Linked DNA regions of Homo sapiens: all the other regions are linked to region 2. Evidence: promoter capture Hi-C in 16 types of primary human blood cells and fetal thymus (Javierre and others, 2016). All regions are on one chromosome and are shown on one strand. Each heading gives the region's core, a stretch centred on a gene start or on the middle of the fragment in contact. The rest is flanking DNA. Distances are from core to core; before and after follow the strand shown.

Region 1 (2,700 bases), core at 140-2,639, 310 kb after region 2:
CGTGAGATATTGTAATTCAAATTTAAGAGTTTATCCTGTTTTTGCAGTACATTCCAATATCCCATTTCAACTATCAACTGCTTCTCTGCTCTTCCTTTTCCTCTTATGTCTCAGAAACAGTCAAAGCTCTTGAGCTCTTCTTCCTTGAGTACGAGTACAGTGACAAACAGGCCCAATGCAAAATTAGTCTTTACCGGTAGGTCCTATTCATTCAGGACTAGTAGGTCCTGGCCAGTTCATTGGCCAGGTTAATGAACTGATAAATTAGAGGGTCACCCACATAGTGTGATTAAAGAAGATACTGAGAAATAAATGCTCTCTGCTCGGAAAAGGTAGCTCACTCATTGTTTTTTCATTGTGTCTACATTTCTCAGTATGATTTCTTTCTTTGTATCTAGAAGGACTTTCAACTTTAAAGAGTCTATTACTGAGAGACAATTAGTAATACTGTCTATTTTAGCGATATCAACAACTATGGCCTGGTGCAGATGAGTTGAGAACTTTCTGAGAGTAAAACGTTCTAGGGAAGGGAACATAATTGGCTTGAGGGACTATTTTCATGTTTCTTTTATGAATGTTGTACATGACAATATTTAATTAGATATTTTTCAGTGGCTGAGAAAAATACCCTGAAGTGCTTATAAATTTTTTAATGTGTAGCTAGATGTTTTTAAAGAAATTACTTGCAATAATGAAACGTATGTTGTGTTTCAGGAAATGAAATGGAAATAGTCCAATTTCAGCCAACTCACAATTTAAAGAGGTCTTGTCTATTGTATTGTCTTTTATACATCACATCGCAAAATATTAGTTACTTTAAGATAGAGCTACCTTATTTAGAGTCAATGCCCTTGTTAATTTGATTTGGATTTACTTGCAGTAAGGAATAACTAGAGTGGATTTCTTTGGAGGATTGCTTGCTTTGATTTTTTTTTTTTTTTTTTTTTGTTAAAGCCTACTGGGCCAAGAAGCTTAACTAATACTTTCCCCAGGTGTAACACTTCTTTGTATTTATTCCCTGGTTTTCTCAGTTATTTTCTTATTGGAAGTCAAAGCATATGGTAATTATAGAAATAAGTTATCTGACCATCATCAGCCTTGTGGGCTTTGGTGGAACAAAGGAAAAGGTGATTATATCATTTTGTGGAATCCATGGATGAAAACTGTAGCTACGTTTGCATTAGGAAAATAGTTACCCGAAACAGATAAACTTACCTATGGGAGTTTCCAACTCACTTAAAGAGTCTACTCTAGGAGATCTAAATTTAGCAATCACCTTAAGATAGTTTTCATTTCCCTAGTTCTCGATTTGTATAGATCACTGCATCTTCCACAAGTTGATTCTATGTAGGTTTATTGCCTAAAATTGGCTTTCTCAAAAGTAACTGCTTTTACTAAGTTTACTTAAAAAACATTTGTTAAGTTACATGACAATAATCATTCTCTCAATTTTATCTTCATTTGTAGAATGACTCAGGATTAACAATAGAATTTAGGTATCTAATTGGAAAACCAGTGTGTGAAATTCTGGTAAACAAGCAATAAAAATAGTAAAGTGGTAATGTTGATTTTGGTAATGGTGCTTGTGTGTTTGGAAGGACTGTATACAAAAGCAACATTTAAATTATTAATATTTTTGGTACATAGCTTATTAAGGAAATAATTTTCAGCTGTTATAAAAGTAATCACTTGGATATAAAACAAAAATTATTTTTTAAAGAGCTCCACCTGTTATAGATTTTAAAAAGTCACTGTTTAGCCAATGTTTTAAAGTCTATTTATTTGAATAAATGAATTATGAAGCTTTTGAAGTCTATCAATTGATATTGATATCAATGTATTAAAAGCTCTAGACATTCTATTGTCTTATAATACTCAATTTTAATACCAGTTTCTAATTGATATAGGACAGAAGTCATTTTTATGACAATTTGTAGTTTAGGAAGCTATAGTCAATTATCTTTATAGGTATATATAATGTATCATTTCAATTCCAGAAAGTATCTTAGGCTCCTAGTTTAATTCGTTTCTCAGTCTGTAGTAAAATAATCTACATTTGAATCTTGGCTTTTGCTCTTACTTAGTTAATATTATTGTGACTTCAAATAAGCTAAGCTGTGGCTAATGTTTTCTCATCTATAAAACAGTTGATAAGAGTACCCATTTCATAGGCTTACTGTGAGGACTAAATGTATTAATTAGAATTAAGTCTAAATTTTTGAGTACCATGCCTGGTACATAGCAAGAGGGCATTAAAGATTAACTGTTATTATTATTTGATTATAGCAAATGTATTACTGAATAATGCTGGAGGCAGAGAGATTTAATTCCTAATCCTGTATTTAATTCCTAGTCCTAGAATTTTTTAGTTAATGATGTTGAGTATGTTAGTTAACTTGTTTGAGCTCAATCTTAACAGAAATCTAATAGAATTGTTGTGCTGAATAAGCTAGTTATTTAATGTAACTTATTAGTACATATTTTGTCATTATTAGATGTGTGGTAAATGATAGGTCAAAAAAGATTGTAATTAATGGCAGAGAAGTAAAGTAGTTGCAGATAACAACTGTAAAATGCTGGACTGAAAAGACACTGAAAACCATTGAAAAGCAAACAGAAGCCTGCAACTGGAATGGCTTTGAACACTTGCAATTGCAACGGTTTTAAATTGTCAATTTGCAGATTATGGGCCAAGAATGA
Region 2 (2,700 bases), core at 139-2,638:
ACAAAAAAAATTTTTTTTAAACCAACACTTCATACAAATTTTGGCTTCTACCCCATAGCGTACTCAGGCTCCTTTTAATACAAAAGCTGCTCTGTTGCTTCCCTCAATAAAATTTACCACGTTTATTTCATGGCTTCACATAATCTGTAGCACAAGGCTCCCTAACTCCAGGGCACAAGTCACCTATTTGAGAAGGAAGGAGTCAGAGTTTTACCCACTAAAACATTTTTTTTTTCTGGAAGCCAAAGGTCTTTCTTGGAATATGTAGCTTTTAAGGAGTAAATATACACTTAACGACTTCAATATACTCTTAAAAACTTTAATCTTAACACTATAGTATTCTATAAGAGCCTGCTGAATGAGGGCAATTTAGTAAATATTTAGTAAATATTTGGTTTAACTCATCATCCAGTTTTAGAACCATTCCAAATGTTTTTAGATTAATACACGACATTTGTTTTCAACCTAATTTTCCCTTGACGCACCGCATCCCCTTCCACTAGTCTAGCAGCCCCATGGACAAACCTTTCTCCTCTCCCTCGTTATTCCTCTGTGATAAATTCACCCTGTCTTCCCACAAAGATCCTTCTTCCAAAACCCAGATCCCGGGCGACGCCTCTCCGCGCAGAAGCCGCGGGAGAAGGAGGAGAAAGAGGAGGAGTAAAGCAGGCCCTCTCGACGTCGGCCTGTGGGGAGCGATGCCGACAAGCAGGAGCGGTCCCGGCTTCGGAAAGGGCCCACCCTGAGGAATGGTCCGGCCGGGCCTAGCGAGGATGTCCCTACCGCGATGCTGGTTCCGTTACCCAGGGTGGACAGGCGCGGAAGCGGGACGGGGAAGAGCGATAGTTTCGCGGCGTTTGCCCAGCCTCAACCCCTGGGATGCGGGTGAGAGACATGGAGGACTGGTCAGAATTTGCGCGTCCCTGGGGCCGCACAAAAGGCTCCCAGCCGGCCTCCCGCAATGTCCTCACCTGTACCTGGCAGCCGACCCCCTGGATCCGCAGCGCCGCCAGGAGAAGTCCTGCGCAGCGCTGGGAAACGACAAAAGAAGGCAGCCTGACGGGCAGCGACAGCCACAGCAACAGCAACAGCCCCACTGCCGCCGGGGATTCCAGGTTCGGTTCCCGGGAACGAGTCCTGCCCCTCTTCTTTTGCCCCGCCTCCGCCCCAGAGGGGCGAGGATCCCGGATGTTGCCTCCTCGGCGCTGTGAATCACCGCCCTTTCTTCTCAGGCCCCAGCCCTTCCGAATCCGCTACGGGTGCTGCAAGGCCTGGGAAGAGTTTCGATGTCTCTAGGGTGGCTAGAGCGTCCTCCCGCGCTCAGTCGCGCTGCAGGTGACGGCGCCCGGAGGCTGTCGGGAAGTAGGCGGGGTGACGTGTGGTTGACGAGCTCGGCGGCGGGTTTGCTGAGATCTGTGGCCGGCGGCAGCTGGTGCGGGGGGCAGCTGAGAGCGAGAGGTGGATCGGGGCGGTGTGTGGCCAGGGCCATGACGGGCAATGCCGGGGAGTGGTGCCTCATGGAAAGCGACCCCGGGGTCTTCACCGAGCTCATTAAAGGATTCGGTGAGAACCAAGGGGACCGTCCTGGGCCTGGGGTCACGGGAGGAGGCCCAAGCTGGGCATGGAGTGGTTCCCTGCGGCCACCGCCGCCCCGCGTCTGGAGAGGTGACTTCAGGAACCTGGAGTCCGGGTGGGGGAAATGTAGATGTTCTGCCCTCTCCTCAGCTCGAGACAGTCGCGTTTCCACAGTAATTTGTAGAGCCACACCACGAGGGCAAGGATCGTGTCAGTCTTGTGCCTGCTGCATCCTCAGGACCTGGCACCCAAATCCTGTAATTGACTTGAGGGCCCTCGCTCCCCAAGCTCTTAAGCACGTATTGCCCTTTGCACTGCCCCTTCTCTGCGGCGCGCACCTTATCCCGGGCTGGTGAGGTCAAGTGCATTGCTCAGGCCATTAGTCCTGCAGAAGCCACCCTAGGGTGCGCCTTCTCAAGGGTGAGGTGTCTGCGGCTCAAGCCGCCCAGGAACTCGAGATTCTGGTTATTCAAAGCAGAACGCCTTGAATGTGTGAATAGCTCTTCGGGACGTCCACACACGCTGACTGCGTGGGCCTGAAAGGCCACTTCACTGGTTCCGCTCTCTGCTCATTTCTGGCTTCCGGTGAAGTGAGTTTTCTTGAGCTAGTGTTCTAGACTAGAGGCCACATGCTTTCCTCACAGTTTCTCTCTGGCTGTATTTAGTGCCTTTCGTCCTAAATAATCAACACATTTTACTTTTTATCCTTCCCTATTTATCTTGTTCTTAGTCTCTTCTTTGGACAGTACGTTTTTATCTATTTCCCAAGTGTTATTGACTCTACGATGTTAAAACTTTTACGCGGGATTAACAATTAAACGTTGATGTAGATATTGCCTGTTGTACACAGCTTAATATTTGGAATGTCATTTATCAAGCATATGTTGTTCATCTTCTATATCTCAGGCACAGTGGTAAGGATTGGGAAATTTTCTTTTTTTTGTTTGAGACAGAGTCTCGCTCTGTCGCCCAGGCTGGAGTGCAGTGGCGCGATCTTGGCCCACTGCAACCTCCATCTCTCGGGGTCAAGCGAATCTCCTACTTCAGCCTCCCGAGTAGCTGGGATTACAGGCACGCGCCACCATGCCCGGCTAATTTTTTTTTTTTTAGTAGAGACAGGGTTTC
Region 3 (2,797 bases), core at 198-2,697, 270 kb after region 2:
TACCTGATTTTTAATATGAAACTCTCTTTTGCCTCTTTATGTTTTGAGTTGGTTATCTGAATGCCTGTCTTATTTGCCTTTGCTTTCATGAGATAAGAACTATAATGATTCACCTTTGTTTCCATCTAGGACAGACTTTTCCATAGAGTGGGTGCTAAGAAAACATTTAATTGAATTTAATTAAAGAGGCTTTGGCATAGTAGGAAGTTCACTGATCTTGGAGACAGCGATTTGGTTTCAAGGCCAGGCTTTGGTCAGGATGCTTCCTTTCCAGCTCAACTAGGACTTTCCCTCTGGGGAGCCTCCTTGTCACCCACTCTACCCTGCATTCTGAATGAGCTCATTCTCTGTGTTTTCCCACAAACCTGTTCTTCCCTTTCTGGGGCACTTAGCACTATCCTGTGTCTCCTCTGTGAGACAGTGAATGCGCTGGGTTCAAACTCTGTCCTCTGAATCCTGTATTTGCAGAGATTAGTACCCCCCATAGTGCTAAAAAAATTGTTACATGAATAAATGGTTTAACTTCTCTGTGCTTAAGTTTTTTCCATCTAAAAATAATAATGTTAATAATACATAATATTGGGGTTTCCAAGAACCTCCCTTAGAAAAAAGGCTACCCCCCTTTCATAAGAACAGCAGTTGTTTGTTATTGAACACTTATTAGATGTTGACTGACCAGACGCTTCACATATATTACCATTATGTCCTACCCTGGTGCCACAATGAGATAGGTGCTATTGTTCCCATTTTATAGGTGTTTGGAGAGGCAAAGGCACTGCCCCAAATCAATAGCAAGCAAGTCAATGGCAGAGCTGGGATTTGAATTCCAAGTCTGTAATTTTTCTACTGTAGAATTTAGTCACATGCGTTTAGTGTTTCCTTAGGAAGCTCCTCTTGGTTTGCCATCAACAGGTCTCCTCATGGCTATCCTGGCTGTGTCATGATGGTCTCCAAAAGTTTGACTCTGAAAGTTAAGCTACTGAGATCCAGTCCCTAATGCATTACTGGGTACATAGTAAGTGTCTGCTCAATATACAATTGTTGAATAAAATAATGAATTAGTGAATGAAAAGCTTATAGATGATACTAGTAATTTATGAAATAAACCAAGAGACTCTTCATGTATGTGTGGCTAAAGAGTTTTTAAACACAACTAACCTGGGCAACATAAAGAAACCCTCTGTCTCCAAAAATACAAAAATTAGCTAGGAGTGGTGGTGTGTGCCTGTAGTCCCAGCTACTCAGGGGGCTGAGGTGGGAGGTTCATTTGAGCCTACGAGGTCGAGGCCGCAGTGAGCTGCAATAGTGCTGTAGGACTTCAGCCTGGGCGACAGAGCAAGAACCTGTCTCAAAACAAATAAACAAACAAACAAACAAACACTCACAACTTTAGATGACATACAAATATTCCTAGAAAGGTAAAACTGGAAGTGGATTCTCATTTAGTAGTGGAAAATGTGAAATAAGGGATTGATTAGTTAACTAGGGATCTTATTAAAAATGAACATTTCTACATTCCATTTACAGGGTTTGTTATATTTAAACCCTCCGTTTGTAAATGTGATATACAATGCTTTGTGAATTGTAAATTGCTAATGATACACTTAATATATTATTAAGGAATTGTTTTCTTTTATGTGAAAGTTGAAGAAAGAGTCCTTTGGGATTTGTTGAAACTCAAGGAAGAGAACAGTTTTGAGACTCAGGAAGATCTAAAAAGAAAAGGGCTCTTTTATGCAGGGAAAATAATGTTTTTCTGTTTTTCATTTTTATTTTTATTGTCAGTGTCTCCTTAGAAACAAATCTGGTTGACTAAGCTTTAACAAATAGATTCAACTGGAATATTTGGCTATTTCAGGGTAGCGACATCCTTAGATTCCGTTAGGTGAGAGTGGTGTATTGTCACGATGCACACGAAGTCTGAAAGGACAGCCAGGAAATTCTGAGCAAGCCCGCAGTGTTCAGGATGAGCAGCAGCTCTGGGGAGCCCGGGCTGATTCTAGTTGCCTGTCATGCTTGTGACTCAGCAGCCCTTTGCTTCCCTCAGTTGATTCCTTCCTGTTCCATCACTGATTCGTTACGCCTTTCTTCTCTCCTTGTTTCTGCCAGTGGCTTCTGCTTATTGCGTTATTTTAAAAAATACAAATAAGAAACCATTAGAGGCTTACTGTGTGCCAAACAAAGTCTCATTTTTACACTCACAGGGTATAGGGTGTCTTTCTTTTCTGATTATTCATTACCTTAGTCCCCAAATTGAGTGCACAGGGAGCCCCAAAGCCATCACATAAGAAAATATTCATGAATGAACAGAAGACTATATATTTCCCACCCAAAACTCCTCCCCACTTATTATTAGTCTTGGTGATTAACAAACCACTCATATACAATGTAAATGTAATTCAAAGCATAATAGTAAAATTTGCAAAAGATGTAGAATTTAATGAAGTTGTCAACAGAAAAGCCATTGATAAATGAGAATTTGGGAATGTGGCCAGTTAACAATTGGAGAAGATAAAATTGACGTGGATCACAACATAATAAACATGCTAAAAAAGAAAGATTTGAGTAGTAAAGTCTTGGAATAATTTTAGAAGTCATGGAATATATTCTTAAAAATGCGAAATGCAACGTGAACCGTATTATCCTAGCATTTTGTTTTGTCCTCCTAACTCCATGACTTGACACTTTGTTCATTCTAATACTTGGTATATACTGAAAGCTATAATCTAAATATTAGTAATATTTCAAAATACTTATTTTTATAATTCTAATTTTATTTTTAAGATAAAGTCATAAT

Evidence for each region. Contacts are between HindIII fragments. The CHiCAGO score rates a contact against its expected background, and 5 or more counts as called.
Region 1: a fragment that was not itself captured here is called in contact with the fragment with the promoter of UCHL5 in region 2 in 1 of 17 cell types (neutrophils); the score reaches 5.8 in neutrophils.
Region 3: a contact is called between a fragment that was not itself captured here and the fragment with the promoter of UCHL5 in region 2, in 5 of 17 cell types (monocytes, neutrophils, M2 macrophages and 2 more). The highest score is 10.5, in monocytes.

Annotation. Positions count from the first base shown.
Region 1 is chr1:192,743,120-192,745,819 of GRCh38, reverse strand. No RefSeq gene overlaps it. Among named protein-coding and RNA genes, the nearest start is that of MIR4426, 28 kb to the right of the region's middle. The HindIII fragment of the contact is 832 bases long and covers 974-1,805 here.
Region 2 is chr1:193,058,048-193,060,747 of GRCh38, reverse strand. It overlaps UCHL5 (ubiquitin C-terminal hydrolase L5), which reads left to right and starts at 1,388. Exons shown (of 11, transcript NM_001199261.3): 1 at 1,388-1,563. The coding sequence starts at 1,488. RO60 (Ro60, Y RNA binding protein) reads right to left here and starts at 1,136. Exons shown (of 9, transcript NM_001173524.2): 1 at 972-1,136. RefSeq lists enhancers at 237-969, 1,037-1,566, 970-1,702, 1,727-2,036. The HindIII fragment of the contact is 5,498 bases long and covers 1-2,700 here.
Region 3 is chr1:192,787,587-192,790,383 of GRCh38, reverse strand. The region is part of intron 1 of LOC105371665 (a long non-coding RNA gene); the gene reads left to right. Among named protein-coding and RNA genes, the nearest start is that of RGS2, 20 kb to the left of the region's middle. The HindIII fragment of the contact is 744 bases long and covers 1,076-1,819 here.